Regions from separate parts of the Homo sapiens genome. Here regions 2 and 3 are each linked to region 1. The links are contacts of gene promoters, found by promoter capture Hi-C in human tissues and cell types (Jung and others, 2019). All regions are on one chromosome and are shown on one strand. Each heading gives the region's core, a stretch centred on a gene start or on the middle of the fragment in contact. The rest is flanking DNA. Distances are from core to core; before and after follow the strand shown.

Region 1 (4,660 bases), core at 1,453-3,952:
TGAAGAGCTGTGCCTTTAGGCTTTCATACTGGTCAGTGGGGATGTCACTCCAGTAGCGAGAGATCTTGATGTGAAGAGCACTGGCCCCAAAGTACTGGATCTCTGGTACCTTGTCGGGCTGCAGTAGCTGCCAGCTGAAGTGCCAGGCCTGTGGGGAGACCTGGGCCTGCATCAGCCACTTCTGAGCCAGGTTCTTATTCTCAATGTTGGGATCATAGTAGAGCTGGTGCAGCGCCTGCAGGACAGCACAGGACTGAGCAGGTGCTGGCCACTCTGGATCCTGCCAGAGCCCAGAACAGAGGCGTGACTTGGTCCTGCAAGGCTGCTCCCTCTCCCTGACTGGGGGGCTGAGCAGGGAGAGCTCAGCGCTCTGCAGTGTTTCCTGGGCCTGGGGTCCTGCTGATATCTTGAGAGCCTGAACCTTGCCCATGCTCTACCATATCCTCTTCTCCTTACAGCAAAACATTATGGGTTCAGAGAGGGAATCTCCACAGGAAAGCAAAAAAGAGGAGGCTGATCTCCCCAAAGGGGAGGCACTTGAGGGCAAGGCCCAGGTGGAAGGAACAGCTTCACAGGGATGAAGCTAAGTCTGAGAAGGGCATGGAACAGCTTGAGGGGACTTGACCCTCCCAGGCACAGCTGCTCCCATCAACTCCAACAGCTCCTTTCAGCTCCCCCAGGATCATCCCTAGGTCAGTCCAGATGCTGGCACCAAAGCCAGTGTGAAATCAGAGCAGGACTAAGACTTTTGCCAGGCAGCCCTGGGGCAGACATGCTGGAGGAGAGGGTGAGAACACTCCTCAGAGGGCACATGTCCAACCAATTGATCCAGAGAAGCCTTGGCCATAGCTGCAGCCCTGGCAAACACCTAGCTTAGTGCTCTCCACTAGCAGAATCCCCGGGGTCTCAATTCCAACGGGACTTTATGAAGTAAGAAAACAGTGAGATTTATCTCCCAATAGCACATGGAACAGTGCGCCACCATGCCAACACTGCCCTGCTCCAAGGGGCGGAAGAGTATGGCCAGGACCCTGACCCCTAAGCAGGCTCCATCCAAGTAAGCTTAGCTCTATTTGTACCCCTGACAGCCAGTTATGGCCATTGGCCCTTGTTTGGCCCCTCAGGGACGCCAAAGCAGGCAGAAGAGATGCATCCTCATTGTTTGTTATGGCAAACGGGGGTTAAGGATAACAAGTGAACATCATTCCCTGCTTTCAAGTAAGGGAGCCCCATCTCCCCATTCATCCCAGGGTGCATGCATTCCTGCATTTCAAGTTGTAGGGAGCAGATACAGAAAAGAACCAAAGAGGCAGTTCAGAAAGATGGGCTGGGCAGTCGGGGAGCCTGGGAGGGCCATGGCAGGGAGCTATGTGGGCAGGCGAGTAGGGAGGAGCCCTGTAAGGCTCCCAGCAGGGCCAGGACCCTTGGACTCAGCACAAAACAAAGGGAGACAGCCCCAGGCCTGCCTGCTCAGGACTGGTCTGGCTTCCATCCAATAAAGGAAGGACCCTTCTCCAAAGAGTCAAAACAACCCAGATTGTTTTAGTTCCAGATTATTTTCTGAGCCCTTGGCTCAACAAAACCAGGTCCAGGATGGTTTGGCATCAGTATAATTCCAGGAGACTGAGCTGCAGGTCTCCTGGGTTCCCAGTTTCCTACTGCACTGCTCATGCAGTTCCCATGGAGCTGGAACATAGCCAGTCTGGACGGAAGGCTAAGTCACAGCACCCTGAAGGGACCATCCCAAGACCCTAGAGTATCTATCCACAGGGGACCTGCCTGTAAGGAAAGACAAAAATAGCCCATTAGGGCACTGCAATACTGCCTGCCCAGAAAGAGAGCAAATGCCAGGTGCTCTGGGGGCACCATACCAGCGGGCACCCAGCCCAGGCCTGAGCTCTGCCATCAGTGACAGTCCCCAGAACTTCTGCTCTGTCACTGGAGTGCCCACCCCAGAGCCCTCATACCTTCTCCACGTTCTCCACAGTGAAGTCCAAGGCTGGTGCTGCTCCAGCCCCTGCAGCCCCCGGCTGCTCCTCCCGCCGCTCCATCTTTGCTCCCTCCCTGGCAGGGAGGTGGGCCCTGATCTGTCTCCTGCCCCAGCCCCTTGGCTGCTGGCCCCCTGCTAGACCCCGGCTTGGGTGCCCAGGGAGTGGTGGGGTGAGGGGGGGCCCAGGGCGGGCATGGCTGCCGAGGCCTCCCCACCTCGTTTGGGGGTGGGAGGCTTGCCAGAGACCAAAATTGGTGCTCTTAGGAGACCCAATGAAGGGGACTCCGAGGAGGGAGCCGTCAGTGAGGAGCTCTCAGGCGGGGATCCTAGTGGCAGGTAACAGCTCTGTCCCCAGAATCTGTGTGGAGGGAGTCACAGGGGAGGGAGGCCTGCGGGGGAAACCGAGTCCCTGGCTCTTGAGGGGTCACAGGGTCGATGGCCTGTACCCACAACACCCCCGCCTGGGTGAGCTCTCGGCTGCTATGAACAGGTCATGGGGCTGGAGGGTCACGGGAGAGAGAGAGCCCTTCGTGGTTACGGAGGCGTCCAACGAAGCGCGGAGATGCAGCTCCGCTAGTCTAGGGCGAAGAGTCCGTGGAGTTGAGGGGCTGTGGCAGGTCCCTTCCGTTCGGCCTGGCCCGCGCTGTGCTCAACGCCCGGCTACAGCCCCGCTACAGCCGCTGCCTCCGCCCCAGTGACTGACAAGACAAGCCAGGCCGGCCGGGACGGGGCAGGGACCTCGGCAAGGCGCGGGCTGCCCCGAGCGCCTGTCCCCGGCACCTCCAACTCAGGCCCCCACTCCTGCCAGTTCTGGCTCGGCACGGCCCGGTACAGGCCGGCACGGCCCAGCGGAACTGCGCGGAAACTCATTCCGGGTCCTTAGCCCTGTCCTCGCGCCAGCTCGCACTCCCCTGAGCAGGCGGTGGAGCGGCTCGCCGCCCCAGGCCGCGGCCGAGTCTAGGCCCCGCCGCTGTTCACCCTGGGAAATGTAGTCCGTGTTGCGCCTAGCCGGAAGGCGGCGCCCTGCGGAGGAGGCCGGGAGCACGTGGGTTGGGGACCTGCAGAGCCCCGCCTGTCCTCGGCCTACCGCGGCGAGCAGGCATTCCGGGTCAGACCGGCGCGGGGCGCTGCGGCCCAACTCCTTAGTAGGACGACGTGACTCGAGGGGCCGGAGGACGGAGGTGGGAGCCCGGGCTAGAGGGTGGAGGCTGGGGAGGTTGCCTGGTCACTCTGGCGCTCCGCTGCCGGGGGCATCCTCCGGCCCAGCAAAGGTGCAGCCTGGGAAGAAGGCGTCAGCACCACCCAGAGAAGAGGAGAGGGGACTTGGCACGCCTCAGGAAGGAAAAAAGGAAGGCTCTCGGGACCACCCAATAAGCAACCGGGAAACCACATACCATGGACAGTGCTCGGGGAATTTCGTAAGGTTTTTGGAAGTAACTTTATGTGTAACTAGAGTAAGAGTAGCTTACATTTAAGTGCTAGGAGCAGGACTTTGCTTACCTTAGGTTCAGTTTTCTTAATAGCTCTGAGGTGGATATTTTTATTCATCATTTTCAGATGAGATGAGGAAATCGAGCTTGGGGAAAGTTAGGCTTATCTTGCCCCTGGCACACAGACAGGGTGGCAGACCATGCCATAGATCTGGTCTGCCACAGGCCCCGGTAGTTCCTGCCTGTCACCCCTCCAGTTGTATTTTATTGTTTATTAACTCCTGCCAGCTACCCTAGCAGGGAAGAGGAAAAAATTAAAAGTGCAAAGAGCTCCGTAGTTTTGTTCAAATGGAGGAAGCTGGCATTGGAAGCTGGCATTGGCAGCAGCTGCTGAGGCCTGAGAAGGTCCATGAAGGCTTCCCTGAGAAGAGAAACTTGATCTGAGCTTGAAGAATAGAGAGCCTGGGAAGGAGAGGGGCCCATTTAGCTGGTAAGCAAAATCCAGTAGGACTCTAAGTCATTCAGCAAGTCTTCATCAATAAAGAATAGCAAGTAGGCCGGGCGCGGTGGCTCACGCCTGTAATCCCAGCACTATGGGAGGCTGAGGCGGGCGGATCACGAGGTCAGGAGATCGAGACCATCCTGGCTAACACGGTGAAACCCCGTCTCTACTAAAAATACAAAAAATTAGCCGGGCATGGTGGCAGGCACCTGTAGTCCCAGCTATTCGGGAGGCTGAGGCAGGAGAATGGCTTGAACACGGGAGGTGGAGCTTGCAGTGAGCTGAGATCACGCCACTGCACTCCAGCCTGGGCGACAGAGTGAGACTCCGTCTAAAAAAAAAAAAGAAAAGAAAAGAAAGAATAGTAAGTAATTTATATTCATTTTAAGAGAATATATGTGGGGTGGGGAAGGGGAAGGGTATGAGTAACAGAGATGAGGTTGGAAAGACAAGTTGGTGGCAATAGATTCTTGTAGGAGTTTGGACATTATCCTAAGTGCAATATGAAACCATGATGGGGTTTCAAGTGAGCAATGATGATTACATTTGCATTTTAGAAAAATCTGCAACATGAAAGACAAATTGAAGGAAGAAAGAGAGGCAGGAGACATTTGGAAGGAGGAAATAGAAAGCCAAAATAAAGTAACTGATTCCAGGCCTGTGCCTAGGGTGTGAAATACCTTGGGCCTGGTGCTGGCTGGCGGTTTCACTGGTGGAGGTGGTGGTGGGCAGGGGAGA
Region 2 (4,660 bases), core at 974-3,473, 990 kb after region 1:
ACAACTGCCCTGTGATACAAGTTACAGTGACCTCATGGTCCAATAAAAAATGACTTTGCCAAGATCACACACTGAGCCTCCCACCCCAAGACATGCTGCCAGCCTTTCCAGGATGACATTAGAGGGTGGAAGGAACCCAGAGCAGGAGGGGCCTTCCAGCCATGGCCCAGCCCTCCATTTGACAAATGGGGAAATTGAGTCCAGAGAAGGGAAGAGATTTGTCCGAGATAAGGCTATCACAAAAGATTTGAGGCGTTCTATGGAGCTGTGTTTTGTTTTGATTTTTGAGACGGAGTTTCGCTCTTGTTGCCCAGGCTGGAGTGCCATGACACAATCTCAGCTCACCACAACCTTCGCCTCCCAGGTTCTAGTGGTTCTCCTGCCTCAGCCTCCCGAGTAGCTGGGATTACAGGCATGTGCCACCATGCCCGGCTAATTTTTTTGTATTTTTTTTTAGTAGAGATGGGGTTTCTTCATGTTGGTCAAGCTGGTCTCGAACTCCAGACCTCAGGTGATCCGCCCACCTCGGCCTCCCAAAGTGCTGGGATTACAGGTGTGAGCCACCGCGCCTGGCCTAGCTGTGTTTTTTTTTTAAAGATGCTTTCTTCTCCACATGCCTGTCTGTGCCATCCTCCACCCACCCCAAATGAGCAGGAATCCCCAGACACAGGACTTGCCATGCCATAGGAGCCTGAAAGTTGGATTAGACGTAACTTGACAACTGAAACTCTACTGTGAATGGAAACAAAACACTAGATGTTCCCACTAAACTCTGACCTTGAAGAAGTGGCTTTCCTTGGAGCCTTGGTTTCCTTCTCAGTAAATAGAGACTTGGCTACCCCCAGTGGATGTGGTGAGACTGGCCCCGTGCCCTAAATTAGAGAAGTGGCTATTTTAAGTGGAAAGACCCTTTGTAAGGCCAGTCTGGGTGTACAAATGATGTAAACAGCCCCAAGATGATCCTTGTCTAGTACCGAGCCATCCAGGGATTCGACCCTATTTGCCCCGGAGCTGGGCCAGCCTCAAATCCCCCGTAATCAGCTTGTGACTTCAAGGAGCTCAGCTTTGCCCAGTGCCTCCTGGTCACGGGGTGTCGGCCCAGAGCTCTGCTCAAGTACCAAGGGTACAGCCATCCAGCTCCCTGCTTCCCCAAGACTGGCAAAGCTGGGGAGGCCTGGAACAAAGAGGAAAGTGTGCAGTGTTGGCTTGGGGCCTGCAACCTCACCCCTTCCCCCACCTCACTCCTGGGCATAAAGGTGATAAAGCCGCTCACTCAGTCTGCAGTCTGGTAACCGACGTCCCCATGATGGCGGAGGCTGGGAGGCCTCCTGACCAGATTCATGGGCTCAGAGAGGCTGTGTCCAGGCCTGCAGGCCCAGCCCTGGCTACCCTAACAAGCCTCCAATTGTTACCTCTCTCCACGGGAGGGGTGGACTGGAGCCTGAGGCTCTGTCTTCCAGCCACCAGGCCTGGCAGTAGCTGATGCATAAACATTAGGGTTTTGCAGTAACTGAGCAGGGCTCCCAGGCCTTGAACCTGGGCAGAAAGAAGACAGCATCTCCTCTCTTTGTGACCACACTGACTTGCCTCCCTGAGGCTTCTGCACCCTGGAATGGGAGAGAGCTCTTGCCAGGCCTCAGCTGATGGAGCCTTTGGCTACTGAGGCCTCTGCTGGACAGGAAGTCTGCCTATGTCTCCTAGCCCAGTTTATCTCCCCCTGCCCTGGCATTTGGGAGTGGGGAGGAAACGGCTCCATCAGAAACAGCTCTACCATTGGACCTTAGGCCAGCCACACTTCTTGTTGGAGCTTGTGTCCTCAGCTGTACTGGGGATGAGAGCTAGCTGTCTGGGTCAGCGGCACTGAGGCTCCAGGGGAGCATGTGGTCTGTGCAGCAGGCTTGGGGAGTGCTGAGCAGCACAGATTGGGTTTCATAGCACAGTGGGAGCCCAGACAGGCCAGCTAGCCATAAGCACCTCTGCTGGAGGAAGAGGTGGACTCTCTTGGGCTGGAGGGCCCAGTTCAAGGAAAGAAACAAACAGCTACACTGGGCTCCTTGATCACCCAGCTGTGGCAGTTCTTCTTGAGGACTTCCTGCCCCTAGGTGGGGGCTGCCTTCAGCTCCCTGCTGCGTGTGATAACTTGGGTGTGGCCCTCACAGCTGTGCAGAAGCTATTCCCAGAGGGTTCTGGCCCCAGGTAAACAGATTCTGCTCTGGGCTCGCCTTGCCTCCATCCCACAGCCCTGTGTGCTGTCTGTGGCACAGCCTAGAGCAGCACTGCCTCGTGGCCCTGGCCCTTATGCGGCTGGAGCTGATCCTGAAGTCCAGTGTCCCAGCGGTCATGGCTGGCATCATCACCATCTACAACCTGGTGATGGAAGTCCTTATCCCCAACTCGCTGATCGACTGCATCAGCCTCTACGGGAATCTCCTCCAGCCAAGCGCTAGGCTGAGTGTGGGCCTGAGTGGCCCGGCAGCCAGCTATGTCATCAGCACTGTGGGGGACACAGTGCTGCCTAGAAGCCCGGGCTATTTGTGGGCTTGATCCTGATCCTCATTTTCACTGCATGGTCTCATTCTCTCCACAAAGTAGCCTTTGAGCCCACCAGCCACAGAATGTGATATAAAGATCACCCCTGCTTATTCCAGAATGAACAGCCTGAGACACATATCCCTTCAGTAGTTGGTCTTGTGAATGCAGTGTCCTAGTGCAAATGCCCATCATCTGTTGACCCCATCCTTGCCCCTGCCTGCCCCATGCTGTGGATATCTGGGCCCCCTCATCACCCATCCTGGCCCCCTGACCAGTGAGGATGCCCCCTCCCATCTAGGGTACTCTGCGTCTAAGGATGAATTCCAGTGTAATTTTCTCTCTTCTGTAGGTTTATTTATGGAAGATTGGACCTGTTCATACATCTGTGGGGCAGCCCTCCATCTCCCAGCTATATAAAGTCTCTAACCACAGTGTTGCATTGTGGGGTTACCATGTGGTCTGACACTTCCTTGCATGAACTACCCTCACTCCAGCCCTGGACAGTCCAGGGCCTAGCAGGCAGTGTGTGGGGCCTACCAGGTCCTGGCATCCAAGCTGTGTCCAATAAAGTTCTTAGATGTGACTGGAAAAAAAATTGGATTAAAAAAAAGCTTCAGAAGTTACAGAGCCAACTACAGAGAAGCATAATAAATGAAAGAGTGTCTTCTAGTTTTGACAGTTTGGTGTTTACCCTAAAGACTTCTCTTTGTGCATGTGTAGATACATGCCTATAAATAGAATATTTGTGTAGTTGGATCCCACTTTCTGCATAGTTCTTTGCAACCCATTCTGTTCACCAAACCAACCCTTAGAGGTAAATACTGGCAGTGTTTCTCTCTGCACATACAACCAAGTGCCACTATACAAGTTCACTAACTCCCTGTTCCTTACACAATATGTACATCCTATTGCTTTTTTTCCCCCCTGAACAATCTACCCTGGTACTCTTCATAACACATACATGTTATGTGAAACACAGATGTGTTTCATTCTTTCCAATAGCTGCATAATACTTCATTACAGGCATGTCCCACCATGATTAAGAAATAGCAGCCCCATCACCTTCTTCATACCACTCACCACCTGATGTATTACATGTATTTATTTTCTGCCCCAGCCTTCAACTAACCTATCAAGTTCCATAGGCAGGGATTTGGTATAGTTTTATCGCTGAATTTCCATTGACTAGAAGAGTGTTGGGAGCATGCATTCAGGCATAATCTTTCCTTAGCAATATCATTTATTCATAGAAGATCCTCTCTTATGGAGAATTAACTGAAGCTTAGAGGAAGAGACTTTTTTTTGAGACGGAGTTTCACTCTTGTTGCCCAAGCTGGAGTGCAATGGCGCGATCTCGGCTCACTGCAACCTCTGCCTCCCGGGTTCAAGTGATTCTCCTGCCTCAGCCTCCCGAGTAGTTGGGATTACAGGCGCGCGCCCCCCACGCCCAGCTAATTTTTCGTATTTTTAGTAGAGACGGGGTTTCACCATGTTGGTCAGGCTGGTCTTGAACTCCTGACCTCAGGTGATCCGCCCACCTCAGCCTCCCAAAGTGCTGGAATTACAGGCGTGAGCCACCATGCCCAGCCAGGAAAGGACTTTTTTAAGGTCACACAAGTGGAGGAGCTGGGACTTAAATGTGTCTGCTGAGAGTGACAGTGAACTTTGCATGTGCCCAATCTTACCAAATTAATGTTCTCTTAGTTGAATTATTGCCCATCTCACCACCAAATGTGTATCTTCTCAGGGGTGTCAGTTTCCCCAGGGTCCAGATCCTGGCCCCACACCCACACATGGCCAAGGAGCCATTTACATTTAACATTCCATAATAGGATGCATACCTTTTCGGTTATTTAGGGAGGATGTGGTTTTGCCTGGAAGGCTTTGAGAATGCTGGGCAGCTAGCTCAGGGGACGTGGGGCTTAAAGCAGAGGCCGATCAACTTTTTTCTAAAGGGCCAGATAGAGCGTAAATATTGTCAGCTTTGTTGGACATGTAGTTCTCGGCCTGCCACTCAGCTTTGCTGTTGCAGTACAAAAGCAGCTGTAGACAAATGAGTGTGGCTGTGTTCCAATAAAACTTTATTCATGGTCACTGAAATGTGAATTTAATATAATTCTTACATATC
Region 3 (4,660 bases), core at 686-3,185, 650 kb after region 1:
GAGGCCCGGCACAGTGGCTCATGCCTGTAATCCCAGCACTTTGGGAGGTCGAGGCAGGCAGATCGCCTGAGGCCAGGAGTTCAAGACCACCCTGGCCAACATAGTGAAACCCCATGTCTACTAAAAATACAAAAAGATTAACCAGATGTGGTAGCACGCGCCTGTAGTCCCAGCTACTTGGGAGGCTGAGGCACAAGAATTGCTTGAACCCAGGAGGCAGAGGTTGCAGTGAGCTGAGATCATGCCATTGCACTCCAGCCTGGGTGACAGAGTGAGACTTTGTCTCAAAAAATAAAAAAGAATAAATAAAAGATAAACAGTGAGAGTCCCATCTTTGCTTCTTAAAGTCAAACTATTATATATAAACTATGTAAAGTCAGTATGTGAAGTAGAATGCTGCTTTGTTTTGCTCAGTGATTTTAAAGGGAAGGGGTAGTTGCAATTTTCCTCCCAAATTACATTCCTGTGTTCTCCTGAAGCATGCCCTTGTGTCTTGGCTCCTAGAATATTTTGAAAAGTATTTAAGATATTTCTTTGTTATGTGCAACTCCAAATGCTGGCATCTTTTTATATGCCAATAAGTGCCTTAACTCTCTGTACTGTTTGTCACAATTGCTTTTCGAAGAACCAAGTAAATGCTGCCCAAACAAATTAGAAAGTTTTCTTTTGGTTGAAATAAGCAACACTTTAACCCAATTCCTAAGTTCTGCCTTTGCCTGAAATTGACTTTACTGATAAATCATTCTTCATACTGATCAGCAAAGAAAGGAAAAATATCTTGTTCTTGTTGTTGTCCAAAAAAAAGAAAAGAAAAAGAAAGTAATTCTTTTAAGATTTTGTTTAGGTTAATAGTAACAATGGTTGGTACTTTCACTTAACTTCAGCAGCAACTAAAGCCACATTGTCAATTCAAAAACAGTTTTTGTTGTTCTTCCAGGAAATAACTCTGTAGTGAGAGGAAGTTTGCAGTAAATGCTTTTGGAGCATCAGGCTGAGGCTGTGTCCCTGAAGCTAGTGTGTGTGTGTGTGTGTGTGTGTGTGTGTGTGTGTGTGTGTGTGTGTGTTTTCACTCTAGTCAGAAAAGACGTGCCAGGTGTTTGTGACAAGCTGTGATGAGGACTGGAGATTACTTGGAATCCATTGTGTTCTTTTCCTTGTTGGAAAAAGAAAGCTTCTAAAAACAAGCCCTTATTTAAAGGAAGCCCCAGTTAATTCAACAAGGCTCTGAAAGAAGTCCCTTTTATAGAAACTGCTTGACAAAGGCCATTTGGCCCAGAGGAGTCCTGTGAGGTCAGAAACTGAAATCAACACCCACATAGGGTTCAGGCAGTTAGAAGCTCAGAGTGTACTTAGTAAAGCATAACAAACTTTTACCCACTTTGGTCAGAATGGAATTTACCCAGCAATGCAGAGTCTTATGCTAGAACACCAACAAACCTCAATTATAATGGCTAACAGTTGCTACGGGTTTACAGGTGCCGGGAAAAGGTGATGCCTACACCTCATGGACTCTCAGCCTTTTGAGATGGGTGTCACTATTATTATTATTATTATTATTGTTATTTTGAGATGGAGTCTCGCTCTGTCACCCAGGCTGGAGTGCAATGGCACAATCTCGGCTCACTGCAACCACCACCTCCTGGGTCCAAGCCATTCTCCTGCGTCAGCCTCCTGAGTAGCTGGGATTACAGGCTAATTTTGTATTTTTTTTTAGTAGATATGGGGTTTCTCCATGTTGGTCGGGCTCAGGCTCGTCTCGAACTCCCGACTTCAGGTGATCCGCCCTCCTTGGCCTCCCAAAGTGCTGGGATGACAGGCGTGAGCCACCGCACCCAGCCGGGTGTCATTATTATGATCCCCATTTTGCAGATGAGGAAACAGATGCATCCTCAGGTTAGTTAAGTGATGGTGTTCAGCTTTGACCCCAGACAGTTTGATCCACAGCCAGAGAGCTTAACTATGCCCAAGGCCTGTTAGACTATACTACCTAGACAGGAAGAAGGCCAGCACACCCAGGGAGGCTGCTTTCATCTGCATGTCATCCTTCAAACTCTTAAAAATGATTGAAGAAAAACAATCCTTTTGTATCCAGCATGCATCTGAAATTTTATTCTGGAAAACAATGAGCTCAACTCTGTGCTGTGTGATGATGGAGTGGTGCCCTTTAAAAGGCAAGGGCTGACCAGGAGAGATGGGCAGGCATGAATTTTAAGGATGTCTTGCCTTTAAGTTCCATCAGGTCCTTGCTTTAGCTCAGGTCACTCTGAAATCCTAGAAGAATAGCACACCCAATAGCACATGACACAAGTGACTCATTGTTCTTCTGCCTCAAACAACAGCAGCCTACTTAGCATACAAAACACATTTTATGAGACAAAGCTGGCTCGGGCCACAGCCACGCATTCTTTGCAGGAGCCACACATGGGGGCTGCTTTCTGGTTGTTCAATCTTACTTTGTTTATTTATTATTATTATTATTATTACTATTACTTTAGAGACAGAGTCTCGCTCTATTACCCAGGCTGGAGTGCAGTGGCGCAATCATAGCTCACTGCAGCCTCGAACTCCTGGGCTCAAGCAATGCTCCCACCTCAGCTTCCTGAGTAGCTGGGACTATAGGTGTGTGCTACCACCCCTGGCTTCAATCTTACTTTGAGGATAAGAGGTAGTGACAACACAAGTCCATTAGTGCTCATGATGCATGATTTATTTCGTGGTGACACAGGGATGATGAGGAAAGGCTTGAAGGCAGTGTCTCAACTCCTCTTTCCCTAGCCCTTTCTCCCTGAAGGCATATTGGTGCTTTGCCAGCTCCACCCTTGCCCGCACCCTAAGGAAGGGACACTGGCTCCCACTGGGGAGTTGGAGTGAACTATGGCACCAGCACACAGGTGTGGGCTTCCTGCTCCCCTGGGGAGAGACCTCTCCTACAGACTTAAGTGGTGCCTGCCCCCAGAGGATTTCTCTATGGGAACTGCTCCAACACCCCTGGAGTCTCAGAGCTGGGGGTCTCAGGTGGGCACCAGCTTTCCTCCCTTCCCGTTTCTAACAGGGCCCCCATGAGAAAGCAAGAATGTGGCAGAGATGACCGTTGGTATTGCTGGGGCCCAGGCAGGCAGGGCTGGGAGGGGCAGCGTGGTGGGGCAGCTCTGTCCAGTGGGTCTACGGCCTCTGGCCAGCTGCATGGACACGACATCCTCAGGAGAGGGTGTGGTAGTCCCTGGCAGGCCTGCTGAGCTCTGTTCTTGCGAGACCTGGCTACCCCAGAGATAATAACCAAGGGGATTCATAGACTGCCATCGTTACACCATGCATGTGTGATATCTAATTATCTTCCTAGGTCAGATGTAGTGAGGTGGAGCTGGTGGCTTGGGAAGAAATTGTCCCATGAACCTGAGGTTAGATCCCATGTGGCAGCTCCATGACATAATCACACTGGAGTTTCAGGGTGGTGTGGTTGGTGACCCATGAGGATTGGTGAGCTCTCGCCCTCAGGGTTTCATGGCATACATGGCCCTGGATAGGCTGGTCTCCTCCTGAAGAAGTGAGGAAACCTTAGAAGATGTGTCTCAAAACATTCCTTAGTCTCAGTCTCCTGGGAAGCTCCACTGAGGATAGATCCTTTGAGCTGACTCAGGGAACTGTGACTTCTTAGGGATAACTGGCTCAGAGGGCTCGTTTTCACCAAGCTTCAAGCACAGCCCTCAGTGGGACTTCCAATGCCAGGGCATGTCTAGGAGGTCAGGGAGGGCAGACTAGGAATAGGGAAAGGCAGCCTTCTGGGAAGGTGGAGTTTGAATGAAGGAGGAAGAGTGTGGTGTCCCTAAGGACAGTCCTAAGTCCCAAGAAGGGGCTAATTCCTCTCTGGGAGGCTGGGGCTGGAAGAGGCCGGAAGCCTGGGAAATGGGCAGCCTTCCTCCAGAGGCTTACAAAGAGAAGGAAGGTGTCCTCTACCGATTCAAAAGGGGCATCTGCTTACAACAGAACAGAGGTCCCTGTACACAGAGTGGAAAGTGTTAACACCAGTTCCTTTTTTTTTTTTTTTTTTGAGACAGAGTCTCATTTCCAGGCTGGAGTGCAGTGGTGCGATCACAGCTCACTGCAGCCTCGACCTCCAAGGCTCAAGCGATCCTCCTATCTCAGCCCCCTTGATAGCTGGGACTACAGGCACACATCACCATGCCTGGCTAATTTTTTTAAAAATTTTTTATTTTTGTAGATACGGGGTTTTGCCATGTTATCCAGGCTGATCTCCAGCTCCTGAGCTCAAGTGATTGGCCTGCCTCAACCTCTCAAAGTGCTAGGATTACAGGCGTGTGTCACCACGCCCAGCCCATAACACCAGTTCTTAATCTGGAGCGAGCAAGTGAGTTGCCTGGAATTCTAACCATTCATTCATCCAATAAGTGTTTGTGGAGCATCTTATTAGCATCCGGCCTGTGAGCATATCTGTGATTGGGTGCACACATGCATTTTCCTGCATTCATCAGCTTCTCAGAAGGGCTCTGCAGCTACCCTAAGGCGAAGGCCCTCAGGCTAGAAGTCCCATCTGCTGCAGGGAGGGCTTGTGTCTGATGCAGAAGGGAGCAGGTGTGGGGAGGGGCTAGGGCGCCTCGGTTTTTTGCCTGCTCAGCACCCATTCCCTGATCTTCTGGTGGCA

Evidence for each region. The method cuts DNA at HindIII sites, captures the fragments that hold promoters and counts their contacts. A contact is called where the count stands out against the background at its distance.
Region 2: a contact is called between a fragment that was not itself captured here and the fragment with the promoter of IPO13 in region 1, in 1 of the 25 tissues and cell types used here (dorsolateral prefrontal cortex).
Region 3: a contact is called between a fragment that was not itself captured here and the fragment with the promoter of IPO13 in region 1, in 2 of the 25 tissues and cell types used here (adrenal gland and lymphoblastoid cells).

What each region holds. Positions count from the first base shown.
Region 1 is chr1:43,944,992-43,949,651 of GRCh38, reverse strand. It overlaps IPO13 (importin 13), which reads right to left and starts at 2,702. Exons shown (of 20, transcript NM_014652.4): 1 at 1,968-2,702; 2 at 1-235. The coding sequence starts at 2,051. It overlaps LOC101929609 (a long non-coding RNA gene), which reads left to right and starts at 3,053. Exons shown (of 2, transcript NR_188535.1): 1 at 3,053-3,171. RefSeq lists a silencer at 2,657-2,906. The HindIII fragment of the contact is 10,546 bases long and covers 59-4,660 here.
Region 2 is chr1:42,950,152-42,954,811 of GRCh38, reverse strand. The region is part of intron 1 of SLC2A1 (solute carrier family 2 member 1); the gene reads left to right. It also overlaps the pseudogene ATP6V0CP4. Among named protein-coding and RNA genes, the nearest start is that of SLC2A1, 6.4 kb to the left of the region's middle. RefSeq lists enhancers at 742-1,686, 1,920-2,214, 2,337-2,406, 3,941-4,476. The HindIII fragment of the contact is 4,431 bases long and covers 8-4,438 here.
Region 3 is chr1:43,292,239-43,296,898 of GRCh38, reverse strand. No RefSeq gene overlaps it. Among named protein-coding and RNA genes, the nearest start is that of TIE1, 6.4 kb to the left of the region's middle. The HindIII fragment of the contact is 6,034 bases long and covers 1-4,660 here.